Linked DNA regions of Homo sapiens: region 2 is linked to region 1. The links are contacts of gene promoters, found by promoter capture Hi-C in human tissues and cell types (Jung and others, 2019). All regions are on one chromosome and are shown on one strand. Each heading gives the region's core, a stretch centred on a gene start or on the middle of the fragment in contact. The rest is flanking DNA. Distances are from core to core; before and after follow the strand shown. Region 1 holds the start of FZD4 (frizzled class receptor 4). Region 2 holds the start of CTSC (cathepsin C).

Region 1 (7,031 bases), core at 3,089-5,588:
ACTGCATAAAACTTTTAGTAGAATTTCCTCCAAAATGCTGGCATTCCCCCCTTCAAAATGAAGAAAGCATGGAGGCTGACTAGCCTTATACCACAGTCTCACTGCCTTTTCCAGGCTTCACCCAACCATTTCCTCTCTTCTCTCTCTTTACCTTTCCAGAATTCACCAATCTGTTGGAACACTTCTGCCACGTGTGAAGAGTTTTGGCAGACCAAATCCACATGCCTGAAGTGATGCCCACCAACAAAGACATAAAAATTTTCAACATTTCAACAGCCATGTTGGAATCATCTGCAGAATACCGAAAAAGTGCCCAGTTGGAGATTTCATAAAAATAACAGGCAATCACACACGTTGCAGGAACTGTGTACAGTACTGAGAACACCCCAATCTTGACCATCAGTCTTTCTAACTTGTCTGTCTTTGTCCCATCCTTTTGAAGATTTGACCGAATTTTGAACAAGGCCACCAAACCTGCAGCAATGAACAAAGTTCCAATGACCAAATAAGTAAAGAGGGGAGCCACCACGAACCCGGTGAGGGCATCGAGATTTTGGTTTCCAACATAGCACAAGCCAGTCAGTTCATCTGCATCCACCAGTCTCATAATCAAGATGACAATGGTTTTCACTGCGGGGATGGCCCAGGCTGCAATGTGGAAATAAGAGCTGTGCATTTCAATGGCTTCATGACCCCATTTGAGTCCTGCTGCCAAAAACCAAGTGAGTGTCAGAATAACCCACCAAATGGAGCTGGCCATTCCAAAAAAGTACATCAGCAAGAAAATTATTGCACATCCTGTGTTCTTAAGTCCTTCTTGGATGAGAACAGGTTCTGCTGCCTCTTCAAAATCACAGGATATCCTTTCCCGGCCTACAGTCAGCCTGACAATATAAGCAATGCTATAAATATTATAGCACATACTGAGAAATATGATGGGGCGCTCAGGGTAGGAAAACCTAGAAGAATCGATCAGGAAGGTCAGTACTGTGAAGGCAGTGGAGATGAAACACAGGCTGGCCCACACAGCCATCCAGATATCAGTGAACTCCTTGGCTGAGCGGCTGTATAAGCCAGCATCATAGCCACACTTGAGCACACAGTTCAGGCTCCTTTTCACCCAGATGTACTGATCAGAATTGGTTCCCACAGAGTGACACTCTTCCCCAGGCTGGATGGGGGTTTTGTGAGGTAAGGGCACCTCTTCATCACCTGGCCCTTCCATGCACATGTGGTTGTGGTCGTTCTGTGGTGGGAATTTGCTGCAGTTCAGACTCTCTGGCCAGGCAAATCCAAATTCCTTCAGGACGGGTTCACAGCGTCTCTTGACTGAAAGACACATGCCGCCGCATGGGCCAATGGGGATGTTGATCTTCTCTGTGCACATTGGCACATAAACAGAACAAAGGAAGAACTGGAAAAGTAACAAAATGAACACACACAAAAAAAACAATGACTTGGAAGTTTGACCAAATGCTCCCACAAAGCTGAGTTGAATGCTTCCAGGCAATCTAGGTATCTACTTTTAAACCAACCTATCGGGAGTCTGTCTGTTTACTCTGACCTCAAACAAGGGCGCCTGATAATCCATCACTTACATACTTTTCTTAGTTTGGCTTTAGTAATCCTTTCCAGAAGAATGTACATAAATAAATAAATAAAATAAATAGGGTCTGAAGAATTGCATAAGCCCTCTTTGCACAACACTTGAAATAAATCTTAAAAAACTGGCTTTCAATCTCCTTCCATTTTAGAAACTATTTGAAAAAGCTAAAGAAACTAATATGACTCATTTAGGTGGTTTATTTTTATCCCCGTTTCTTTATCATTTTAAAAATAAAAGTTAAAAAAAAATGTAGATCCTGTTAGTATTCTCTTCTCCCTAATTTATCCCTTAAAAATTTGTTTAAACTAGTCCCATACTGAAACAAAAAATGGCCCAAATGAGACACTGTTAGACTCAAGGATGGGATGCAGATTGAGGTCTCTGGTCACTAGGGATTTGTTTGGCCAGGTTTCCTCAATGAATAATAATGAAGCACAATAGGAAAATGTAAATGTTAAGTCGCTGAAACTGCAGTACCAGCAGGGGAGAGTCCAGTTGCTGTCCTCAATTCCTCCAGCATTGATAAACAGTCTGCTTGGCTCCTTACAGATGTTGTCTATGAAGTCTAGAGTTACAAGTAACTATTTTCCAGCATGTAAAGGGATCCAGTCTTGTCCTTCAAAACAGCTTGGCCGCTTTCCCCAGGATACATGTAATTAAAAATATATATCCCTGCAAAAGCTGTTTCTCCAACAAATTGCCACTGATGTCAGGATATGTGCTGTTTCCAAACTGAGAGCTGGAGGATCATTTCTTAAGCTTTTATAACCTAGTTCTAAAGTTCTGAAACTTCCAAAGGGATATTTTAGCAGCAACAGGTCTAATCCCCACCATCTTTCCAAAACCACAAACCAAGTTTTAAAATGACCTATGTAAAAACATGCACCTAGTAAGTAAGCTGTATGTCTGTTTATTATCTCTCAGAAGTTACAGCCAGAACCACAGATTTCTTTTCTTTTCTTTTTTTTTTTGATACGGAGTTTCGCTCCTGTGGCCCAGGCTAGAGTGCAATGGTGCAATCCCCGCTCACTGCAACCTCTGCCTCCTGGGTTCAAGCGATTCTCCTGCCTCAGCCTCCTGAGTAGCTGGGATTACAGGCGCACGCCACCACGCCCGGCTAATTTTTGTACTTTTAGTAGAGACAGGATTTCGCCATGTTGGTCAGGCTGGTCTCGAACTCCTAACCTCGTGAGCCACCTGCCTCGGCCTCCCAAAGTGCTGGGATTACAGGCGTGAGCCACTGCGCCCGGCCAGAAACCAGATTTCTGAAGCCTGGACAACTAACGTCTACTTTTTCCCACAACTTCTCTCTTTTCTAAATTTCTAAAAATCACCCAGCCTCACCAACCCAAACATAACCAATGTTAACACTTTAAAAATTTTCCTGTCAGTCTTTTATTATCCCAATAAATTTTTTATTTTGCAGGATTATAATCACCCTGTATATGCAAATTCTTATTACTGTGGAATAAACATTTTCTCTATCATTAGATATGCTTTACATTTTTTAATGACTGCAAAAAAATTTCTTCCAATATACCAACCACCTTCCTGCAGCTTCTTCTCACCCTCCAAGCATTAAACGTGCCTTCAACTGTGAGGATAAGAAAGAACTCAAGCCAACCCAACCACTCCTTCATGCATGACCTCTAAAACGCTGCGGGACGTCGTGAGAAGGGGCTATTCAGCAGAAAAAGGTGCAGTAGTGTTTCATTTAATAACACCCCAAAAATAGTGGGGAGAAGGAAGTTCGGTGAAGGATGGTCTCCTTATCACTCCCTCCAAGTCTTAGCTGCAGCTGGCTCCCTCCCACTCGCCCACCGAGCAGTGGCGGCCAGAATCCTTGGCAGAGATAACCCTCAGCTCCACTGGGGTTAGGGGTCTGGGCCAGACATGGGTGGGCAAGAGAGAAAAACGGAAGGGCGGGGTGTAAGAGTGGGTTCTTTCCCAGGCCAGATGACTTACACAACGTTTTGGCTTCCAGTCCCTGAGAAAGTGGGGGTGGGGATGGAAATCACTTTTCCAGGAGAGCTGTCTCCTTCGGGCTAGGATGATCAACTTGGCATGGGCTCTGCAAAGTTAGTTTGGAGCGTCCCTCCCCAAGGGGTCCCGCCAGGGGTGGGGGTGGGGGCGCCCACCTGCAGCTGGCTGGAGCAGCCGTACTGGATGAGCGGTGTGAAAGTTGTCAGCTGCAGCTCGGCGTCCGTCTGCAGCTCGTGCCCAACCAGGTTGGGCATCTTGGTCACGTTGTAGCCGAGGTTCTGGCACATGGAGATGCGGATGGGGTCGCAGCGCCGCTCTTCCTCGTCCCCGAAGCCCCGCGCCGGCCCCAGGAGCAGCAGCAACTGCAGGAGCAACCCCAGACTGAGACCGACGCCCCCGGGCGCCCCCGGGACGCTCGGCCCTGCGCCCCGCCAGGCCATGGCCAGCATCGGGGGTAGCAGCGGCAGCGGCTGGGGCTGCTCTGGCAGACACCCCCAGTTTGCACGGGGGCGCCGGCTGCCCGCGCTGCTCCCAGCTCCCGGGACGGGAGTGTGATGCGGCGACGAGGGGGCAGCGGCCGGCTCTCCAGCAGCTGCGCGCGACTGTGTGGGATTTTAGACGTCCCGGGCCGAGGCCGAGGGACAGGCTGCGAGGGTCATGGCTGCAGGCGGCGAGCCCACAAGCCGGCGCCGGCCGCGTCCGTTCGGCGTCTCCGCGAGGCCAGCCAGCAGCCAGCGCTGCGCAGCTCTCACCGCCGGAGCCCTGCGCGGCGCTGGAGGCTCGCGGCGCGGCGGCGGGGCGGGACGGACAGCGGGCCTCTCCAATGGCCGGGCGCGGTGGGCAGCTAGGGGCGAGGCGGCGGGGCGGGGCCGCTCTCCCGCAGGAGGAGTCAGGCCCCCGCCCTCCGGCCCCCTCCTCCGGCCGCCCCTCCCTCCCTCCCTCCCCTAGCGCCCCGCCCCGCCCGCCTCCCGGCTCTTGCTTTCCTCCCACCCGGATCTAGGCGCGCAGGGGCCAAGCAGGGACGCAGCCCAGTGGCTCCAGCCACGCCGTCCTGCCCCCTTCTGCAGGTGAGAAGTGCGCCCTGTTCCATCTGCCCCCTTTCCTTCCTGTCTCCTTTCAGCTGTAACCTAGGCCGGTGGCCACCTCCCCGTCAGGCAGAGAAACGTACACAAAGAATTGGGGATTTGGATTTACACCGATTGTGGCTTTCAGTCCCGGTTGTGTGACCTTGAGCAAATTGCTCAACCCCTCGGCGTCAGTCTCCTCTGTAAAGTCACTTGGGAGGATTAGAGATAAAGTGTAGAAGGCTTAGCATGGTGCCTGGTACTGCGTGAGTCCACAGCTATTTTCACTCCGGACCAGCGGCGATCGGGGCCCGGCCTCTCCCCGCCCCCAGACTCGCCCGACCTGCGCAGGGAGCCGCCCACCTCCAGCCGCCAGCGGGGAGGCGCCCCAGAGCTGCGGAGCTGCAGACCCGCCGACGGTCTCGCGCTCTGATTTCCTCACCGTATGAAATGAAATTCCACAGGGGGATTCGAAAGGAAATGAGACCGGGACTCTCCGTGCTTCTCGGCCCGCCGCCCTTCCTGTCTCGGGGACACGGTTTCTAAATAAGGTTGGGAGGGTGAGAGGGCGGGAGGGGAGAGGCTTGACCTGTGCACTGGGGACGAGGAAGGCGCACAACCACCGTGACTCCTCTCTCCCGGCCTCCCGGGCACCCCCTCCCCACCAGGCTGCACCCCTTTTTTTCTTTGCTTCTGCTTCGGCTCCTAGGGATCTGGGGATCATGTGACCCAGGTTTGAACCCAACTTTCCTGTCTCATTACCAGCCCCCCGCGGCTTTGTGCTGGTCCACCCTCTCTCTGCTTTCCAGTCGGCCAGTAAACTCCCAGCAGGTGGATTCCTCCACCGTTTACTTGTTGCTTGACTGTGTTGAAGCTATGGTGCCTCTCTGAGCCTCAAAGTGGCCGGCTGTAAAGTGGGGAAGTTCATATCCACCTCACACAGTTGTTCTAAGAGTTCAGTGAGATAATACCTGTAAATCATTTAGCAGTGTCTGACACATAATAAATGCTGAAGAACTTGGTGATTGGGGTGTGTGTGTGTGTGTGTGTGTGTGTGTGTGTGTGTGTATGTGTTTCCAAAACAGCTAGGGGAGATCAATTATGGGACAGCCTCCTGCTTTCCAGCCTGGTGCTAAAGACAGCTCCAGCAGCCCCGGAATGAGGATCTGGGTAAAAGGCTTTTCACCCTCTTCCTGAGATCTTTTTGTCCAACACTTGCCACTGTTTTATGCATGTTTTTATCCTCCCATTTCAGCCAATTCTGTGGCATATGGCAGAGGCTAGATGCAAGTTGGAAGAATGTCTGTGCCACTCATGTGACACTCATATTCTGTCTTGTATTTTTAGTCTTCTTATATTGGCAACGAGACTTGACTGAGGGCAAAAATGGAATCAACTTTTTTTTGGTATTTGGCTCTGTGCCTAGAACTGTGTTGGACACGGAGAAGCTGCATTGTCTCCAGTCATCATCATAAACTCCCAGTGAAGGAGGTTCCGTTAGCTCCTTATAGAGATTAGGAAACTGAGGCTAGAACCACAGTAATAGAAAATGACAAGACCAACCAAACCAGGGCCCAGAAGAGGCTCTTCAAAGATGGAAGGCAGGGCTATTTTCCCAGAAAAAATTCCCAGCTGGAAATCAATGTACTCAGCAATAGGATTGAATCTCTGTGTGCCTGTGCTGAGTAATGCATAAAACCCTTGGCCTACAGAGATGAATAAACGATCAGATGTAGAGATCAAATGATCTATTAATCATTTGGGTTACAGAGATGAATATATAATCAGATGAACAGATCAAATGAATAGATAATCCTCATCCTTTAGGATCTCACAGGAGGAGACAAAGGATTAACAAACAACAATAACTTAGTTTGCTAAGTGCACAGATAGAGAATTGTGGGTGAATTGAAGGTAGAAGTGGCTGAGTCTGGAGGGCTACTCAAAGGGGGATGACCTGCAAGACTCGTAGCTACTCAACAAAGTGTAGTTAGTATGCAATTGGCCCTTCTTCTAGGGAAGAGTGGTGGTGGTGGGGTGTGCTTTGTGCTGAAGATATGGTTACATGGTTTATTAAACAGTGAACTCCCTGAGGTCAAGGAGGAGGACCTGTCCCTCATACAGGGCCTGGCACACAAGGAACATCATTTGTTCTGGGTGAAGGAATACTGTTTTCAAATCAATAACAAACCACTCATATAGAACTCTTACTTTCAGACACTGTGTTACATGCCTTACATTCTTAATTTTATTTATTTCTCACAACTTGCAGAAACTGATGCTCTGAGAGGCCAAGCAGTTTGCCCAAGATTACACAGTAAGTCGTAGAGAAGAACTCATGCATGTCTGCCTGGCCCTAAACTCTGTGTGCATGGTAC
Region 2 (7,031 bases), core at 2,267-4,766, 1.4 Mb after region 1:
TAATATTTAGCTTACAAGAAAAGTTCCAGCTTGTGAAGAACAAATGAAATGGGCTGCAATTTGTGCTAAACTATTTTAACCCTGAGTATGTTTGCAATTGGAAAAAGTGTGTTATGAGAATGAACAATAGTTCTTTCCTAATGAGAGAAGGAAACAAGCTGGGTTGACTTGGCTACCTTTCACTTTAACCAGCCTAAGGGAGTAACTCCTAGGTTCTCTCTTTCTGTTAGTTTAGAAGAAAAAATTACTCAACATATTTAGTACATTTAAGATAATGAATCATTTAGGCCTATCACTACCTCAGCCAACAGGTAGTGATAGGAAGGACAGCATAGTAACTGCAAGAAAACAAAATGTGTAATCTCTCTATCTTTCCTACAGATTTAGAACAAAGCCAAATGACTATGGCAACATTTAGAAATAAAGTGGTAGTAATAAGGAAAATAAATTAAGAATTTAGTCATACTTACCAAAATGTAAATTTTAAACATAATTTATACATATTCAAATGTAGCACTGGTATTTTGTAAACCTACTAAAATCATAATTTTAAATAAAGTGGCAAAATTATACCAACTACTACTACTCTTGGGAAGAGTGGTGTCAATTCCGGTCATCTTCTTAATCTAAAATTAAAATTCTGAGGGTCTACTAATCAGAAGAGGTTTCAGATATCAAATCATTGAAAATGTAAATCCAACTTCCAACAAAACTAACCTTAAAAAAGGCAAACCACTTGTAGTCATTCAACACAATCTCAAAGCCTTGGTTGTAAATGATGGTGAAATGGCCAGAATTGCCAAGGTCATCATATGCTGTATCCAGCTTCTGAAGGTACACCACTACTTTTTTTTCTTGTGGTCCTAAAGAAAAAAAAAAAAAGCACAATAAAGGAAAATTATTTGGATTTCAATAGGGGAAAGAATCCCCCAATTTCAATTTTAATTGTGCTGCTTTCCTTTCATGCTACCCAGTTTGAGCACAGTCTGCCTAGTGAAGAAACCAGAGGCTCCATCTTGTTGCCTCAAACAGTTCCTGCTCCGAGGCAAGACTGTGAAGTTAGGCTCTAAAAATTTGAGATAATGCAAGCAGAAGCAGTGGCTCACGCCTGTAATCCTAGCACTTTGCGGGGCTGAGGTCAGAACTTCAAGACTAGTTTGGGCAACATAGTGAGACCCTGTCTCTACAAAAATAATTTTTAAAAATTCGCTGGTTATGGTGGTGCATTGCCTGTAGTCCCAGCTATTTGAGCGGCTGAAGCTGAGGTGGAAGGATTGCTTGAGCCCAGGAGTTGGAGGCTGCAGTGAGCTATGATTGCACAACTGCATTCCAACCTGGGCAACACAGTGAGACCTTGTCTCAAAAAAGAGAGATATGCTATGCAGCCCAGCAGGCAGGGAGACCCCCAAAACTACAGTACCTTTCCAGAGCATCCCAACACTGAAGAAATTTTTCCACTGAACAAAAGGAGAAATGGGGAATGTTGAAAATTACAGGCTTCCAGAAACGGAGAAAAGGCAAAATGCTAGTCAAAAGTGGGAAATGCAAGAATAAAAGGTATGACAACAAAAAGATAAATAAACAGACTATCAGATCCTAAGGAAGACAATGTGCTAAGCCCAGGAGAAGACACAAAATGATCTATTCGGAGAAGAAATGGGGTACCTTTCTCCTCAAAGGCTCTACAGTTTAGAACCTCATAATCTGAATCCTTCCAAAGTTTATTCAGCAAACTAGAGGTCTGTATCCTATAAAACCAATTAGTGCTGATAGGAATGATACGTTTAACCTTCATAGATGAGGGCTCAGACCTGTGGGTGCCTTTAATTACTGAATTAAGGCCAAAGGTAATTTTATAGGCAGAGCCTTCCTGAAAATGATTCAGCTGTGTCCATCTGGAGAGTTGTGTATTTTAAAGTTTTTCCATGTTTGAGAGTAATGCTCTGACATGGGAGATTGCATGTGACAGGGCAGTGCAAATCCTGATCTCTTTCTGCCCCAACCTTCAAACTCAAATTTAAAAAAAAAAAAAAAAAAAAGGCCAGGCGTGGTGACTCCCGCCTGTAATCCCAGTACTTTGGGAGGCCGAGGCGGGCGGATCACGAGGTCAGGAGATGGAGACCATCCTGGCTAACACAGTGAAACCCGTCTCTACTAAAAATACAAAATATTAGCCGGGCGTGGTGGCATGTGCCCGTAATCCTAGCTACTCGGGAGACTGAGGCAGGAGAATCGCTTAAACCCGGGAGGCGGAGGTTGCAGTGAGCCGAGATCCCGCCACTGAACTACAGCCTGGGTGACAGAGCAAGACTCCATTCTCAAAAAAAAAAAAAAAAAAGTTACAATGTTCAGGATTATGAAATGCTATACAGTCAGTTAAAAAGGTATTTCTTTAGTAACAAATGACTTAATCTTTGTTCTGTTGACAAGAAAATTATAGCTGATTTTTTACTGACTCTGCAGAAGTCACAGGCTGTAAGAGGGTTTGGGTAGACCACAGTGTGACTCTTCTAACTAGTGATTGTCTTTTTTCCACCCCACCCCCTTCACTAGGTTCTTTGTTCTAGGGGTAACCATGTTATCTGAAGGCATATGGAATATCTCCAGTATGTTCAAACACTAGGTATTTATTGAGAGCCTTCCATGAGCCAAACATTGTGCAGACTCTGGGCATTTCTAATTACTAGGTTCAGAGTTAAGTTTTCTTTGTTATTAATTTTTTAAAAAATTTTTACCTCCTTGCAATGCATGAAACAATGCAGAGTGGTACTAGCCGTTTTCTAGTACTCATCAACACCCGCTCAAACCAAAATCGCTGGGCAGAAAGTCCCTTTCCCACCATCTAACAAAAAGAGAAAACTTCATGCTATATCCTCGAGAGTCTCTGAGCTCATCTATCTTCACTAGTAAAATAGTAATAAAAAATAAAAATAAATTTTAAAAATAACGCTACCAGATCGGACTGGAGAACCAAACGATTGCAGTTCCCAAGTCTCTCTCAAAGCAAACAAAATTAAGCGGGAGGAATAAAAAAGTTCTTGATCAAAGTGTTGAGTCCCCAAGATAACCAAGAAAGTGTGGAGTTAGAAGTTCTCAGCAGATGAACTTTAACTTCGCGAGCCTGGCGGGGAAGAAGGTCCCCAAGGGTCCCCGAATCCAGTCAAGATGCTCTGGCCACCCACAAGCGTCTGCCTGGGGGGAAGCGGTAGTTGGCGTGGCGCTGCGTTAGGGGCTCAAGGGCAGAAAGGACGACCCGGAGGACTGCCGAGCCGGCGGCTTACCCATAACCGAGCAGTTGACATCGCGCTGGGAACCGCTGGAGCCCACCTGGAAGACCCAGGTGCCCAGCAGGTCAAGATAGGTGCAGTTGGCAGGTGTGTCGCAGCGCACGGCGCCGTCGCCGGAGAGAAGCAGCAGGAGGGCGGCGAGCAGCAAGGAGGGCCCAGCACCCATGCTGCAGGGAGCTGAGAAAAGAGGTGAAGAATTACCAGGAAGCCGAGCGCTGCGGGCTAGCGGTGAGTCCACCACGAGGCGCGCGCCTTGAAATAGCTACGCCGGCCCGGAAACCCGTGGGCGGGGTCACTGAGCAGCAGGGGATTGGGGGTTGGGCGCCAGGCGCGTGCGCGTCTCTGAAACGGGGACTTGGGAGCGCGCGCTGCCCCTCACTTGGCTGCAACTGGACCCAGAACTAGGGAAGAGGCCAGGGACAGATTTTTTTTTTTTATTTTTATTTTTTTTGCCGAGGGACGTTTCAAAATTTTGCACGGCCAGGGTGACAAAAAGAGGATTTAAGAGCCACAAGCGGTCCGCACATGACCCAGACTTCGTTCCTGTGCGGTAACGTAGGGAGAGAAGGAAAGGGTGTGGGGGGAATAAGGGAGTGGGTCAGGTGAAAGAGCGCGACAGAGGGAGAGATCTAGCAAGTGGAGTTCTGTTTTACTTGCTATTCTTCCCCTTTAGTCTTTTTTCTCAGGTCCACTTGCCTCATAACCAACTTCTTGTTTTTTCCTCTGAAAAACTTCGCTAGCTAACATCAACTATTCCAGCTGTTTGAGAACTTATCTTCCTTCCGTTTTCCAACTCTTCCTACTTTTTTATGTGCTTGATTTTGTTTTGTTTCCTGGTAAATGCTGTTTGCCTGTTTGCATTCAGCAGAATTCAGTTTTTGTGCAAACCTGCAGTTTTGATGTATTAGCGTTGTGGGGGTTTTCCCTCTGGCACGCACACACATGGCGCTCTCAGAGATGATATTGCTCAACCCCTTTTATGTTACAGAGGAAAAGCAAGAGGCCCAGAGAGAGGAAGCGGCTTGCCCAGGGTGAGAAGGGTGAGGAAGGAAGCTAGCCAATGGGAGAAGGCTGGTCTTATGAACCGTTCTAGTGTGTCAGTCTGATCGCCAAAAATTATTAGGTGGCACTATTTCCAGGTGCCTCCTTGCTCAGTTTAAGTATCACCCTTTTCCGTAAGAGCCTCCCGTTCTTTCCTGGCTTTTGTTGGTAATTGGGGCTCCTTTCTCCCACTGAGCCTACTAGGTGTCAGGCCCTGTGGACACAGTGATGAACAAGACAGACCTGATGTGTCCCCGTTTTCTTTGGGATATGAATTTTTGCCCCCTTTGCACTGGTCACAAATCAATATTCATATGTCCATTTTTTTTCCACCAGATTATAAACATTCAAAGAGAGCAGGTCCAAATTATTCACTTATATCTCCCTAGATTCTGGTTTATTCAGAAAGTGTCCTTGAGTGTTAAAATAAGTGTACTTAATATTCTTATCTTGGTTGCCAAGCTTGAAAGCCAGTTTCAATGAGGCAAAAGGAGTTGTCCTTGAAAGTTCAGAGGTGAAAATACTCTTCAATGGGGGCACAAATTTCCAAAGCCTGGGGCGGGGTTGGTGGCGGGGGGTTGGGGAACACCTTGCTTTTAGGTTTTATATACCTTCTTAGAATTGAAAGCTGACATTGTATAATTAAGCTAACACACTATTTATTTAAAGATACCCTGACAGATTAAGCTTCCCTTCCTGAATCTCTAGGAAGGTGTGTTACTGATTGTTAAAACATTAAATTTGTATTAGGTCATCAATATTGAAGAGCCAGTTTAGGTGGAAATTTCTTTGATGAATGTAATCAAAGCAACACACTTAATTGTAAAGAAAGTTTAAAACAGTCTTTATTCAATGATTGAATAATAGAAAAAGATCTTGTGGACCTCTTAGTCTAATGGATTCATTTTAAAATTGGGAAATGGAGATTCAGAGAGTTAAATCACTTGCTGAATGTCATATTGCCACTTAGTAAGATTTAAGAATGAACCTCAGGCACATTGATTTTCAGTTTAGTTTATTTCTACTAATCTAATAATTCCCATACTGTTCTCTCTCAAAAATAACTACTAACTCTCCATTCCACGCACACACAAAAAATTGATTCTCAAACTGATCAGACCCCAAATCCTTTACTTTCTGAAATGAAATTAATATATAAACTGCTTACACACTTAATAAAAAGAAATGTAATGCCAAATGTAATATAAAGAAGAAATCAGATATTTTAAATATATTTCTAGTATAATAAGTTATATCCCATCATGTAAAATGTTCAAGTATGACTGTGTTGGAAAACATAATGAGGCACTCAGATACTTGCTCTTCACACTTCTGTAACCACCCAATGGATTCACCTGGCCTGCTGCCTAGACAGAGCCAATTTATCAAGACAGGGGAATTGCAATGGAGGAAGAGTAATTCATACAGAGCCGGCTGTGGGGGAGACGGGAGTTTTATTATCACTCAAATCAGTCTCCCCGAGCATTCAGGGATCAGAGTTTTCAAAGATAATTTGGTGGGTAGGGGCTTGGGAAGTGGGGAGTGCTGATTGGTTAGGTTGGAGATGGAATCATAGGGGGTCTAAGTGAGTTTTTCTTGCTATCTTCTGTTCCTGGGTGGGATGGCAGATATGGTTGAGCCAGATTGCTGGTCTCAGTGGTGTCAGCTGATCTATGGAGTGCAGGGTCTGTAAAATATCTCAAGCACTGATCTTAGATTTTACAATAGAGATGTTATCCCCAGAAGCAACTTGGAGGGTGGGAGGGTGCAGACTCTTGGAGCCAGAGGCCACATGACCCCTAAACTGTAATTTCTAATCTTGTAGCTAATTTGTTAGTCCTGCGAAGGCAGACTGGTCCCCAGGCAAGAAGGGAGTCTTTTTGGGAAAGGGCTATTATCAATTTTGTTTCAGAGTCAAACCATGAACTGAATTACTTCCCAAAGTTTGTTCCACCTATGCCCAGGAATGAAAAAGGACAGCTTAAAGATTAGAAGCAAGATGGAGTCGATTAGGTCTGATTTCTTTCACAGTTGTAATTTTTGCAAAGGTGGTTTCACTTCTATGTAAAATTGTAGAATCGTGGTAAATGTGATAGGAACTTTTTTCTGAGAGCACAAATGATTTCTGATGAGTTATAACTCAAATACCTTATCAATTAATCACTCAAACACCATACCAAAGTTGTTGATGTTGGACAATTCTTGGTCAAATTCCCAGGAGAACAAAGTAGAATTTTCTGTTGAAGGTTTATCAAGAGGTTGCATTCCCAAAAATTCAGTATATGTTAAAATTATATAAAACAAAAGTGAGCTTATGTGCAAAACATGGTCTGTCAGTAGGCTCCCATCATTAAAAGCAGGTTTACAGAGAGGCAGCATTACTTGGCAGTGGTTCTCAAAGTGTAGCCTAGGACCAGGGACATCAGCATCTGTCTTAGTCTGTTTTCTGTTGCTAGAACTGTACCTGAGACTCGGTAATTTAAAACAAAGAAAATTATTTTTTATAGTTCTAGAGACAGGTAAGTCCAAGGTCAAGAGGCCCCATCGAAGGGGGCCCTTCTTGCTGGTTGAGACTCTTTGCAGAATCCCAAGGTAGTACAGGGTATCACGTGGCAAAGGGGGTCATGAGAGATGGCCAAACTAGTGCTTATTACAGACCCACCCTCATGATAACTAATCCTTGATAATTCCATAATCCATTAA

Evidence for each region. Contacts are between HindIII fragments. The study calls those that stand out against the background at their distance.
Region 2: a contact is called between the fragment with the promoter of CTSC here and the fragment with the promoter of FZD4 in region 1, in 1 of the 25 tissues and cell types used here (IMR-90 fibroblasts).

Annotation. Positions count from the first base shown.
Region 1 is chr11:86,951,057-86,958,087 of GRCh38, forward strand. It overlaps FZD4 (frizzled class receptor 4), which reads right to left and starts at 4,339. Exons shown (of 2, transcript NM_012193.4): 1 at 3,745-4,339; 2 at 1-1,414. The coding sequence starts at 4,029. The coding sequence ends at 86. It overlaps FZD4-DT (FZD4 divergent transcript), which reads left to right and starts at 4,565. Exons shown (of 3, transcript NR_038905.1): 1 at 4,565-4,656; 2 at 6,926-6,970. It also overlaps a transcript of PRSS23 not described here. RefSeq lists silencers at 4,017-4,066, 4,197-4,566, 4,917-5,066. The HindIII fragment of the contact is 8,131 bases long and covers 495-7,031 here.
Region 2 is chr11:88,334,220-88,341,250 of GRCh38, forward strand. CTSC (cathepsin C) reads right to left here and starts at 3,517. Exons shown (of 7, transcript NM_001814.6): 1 at 3,282-3,517; 2 at 718-863. The coding sequence starts at 3,453. It overlaps LOC101929174 (a long non-coding RNA gene), which reads left to right and starts at 3,665. Exons shown (of 5, transcript NR_188511.1): 1 at 3,665-3,837. RefSeq lists an enhancer at 3,233-3,512. The HindIII fragment of the contact is 12,694 bases long and covers 1-6,782 here.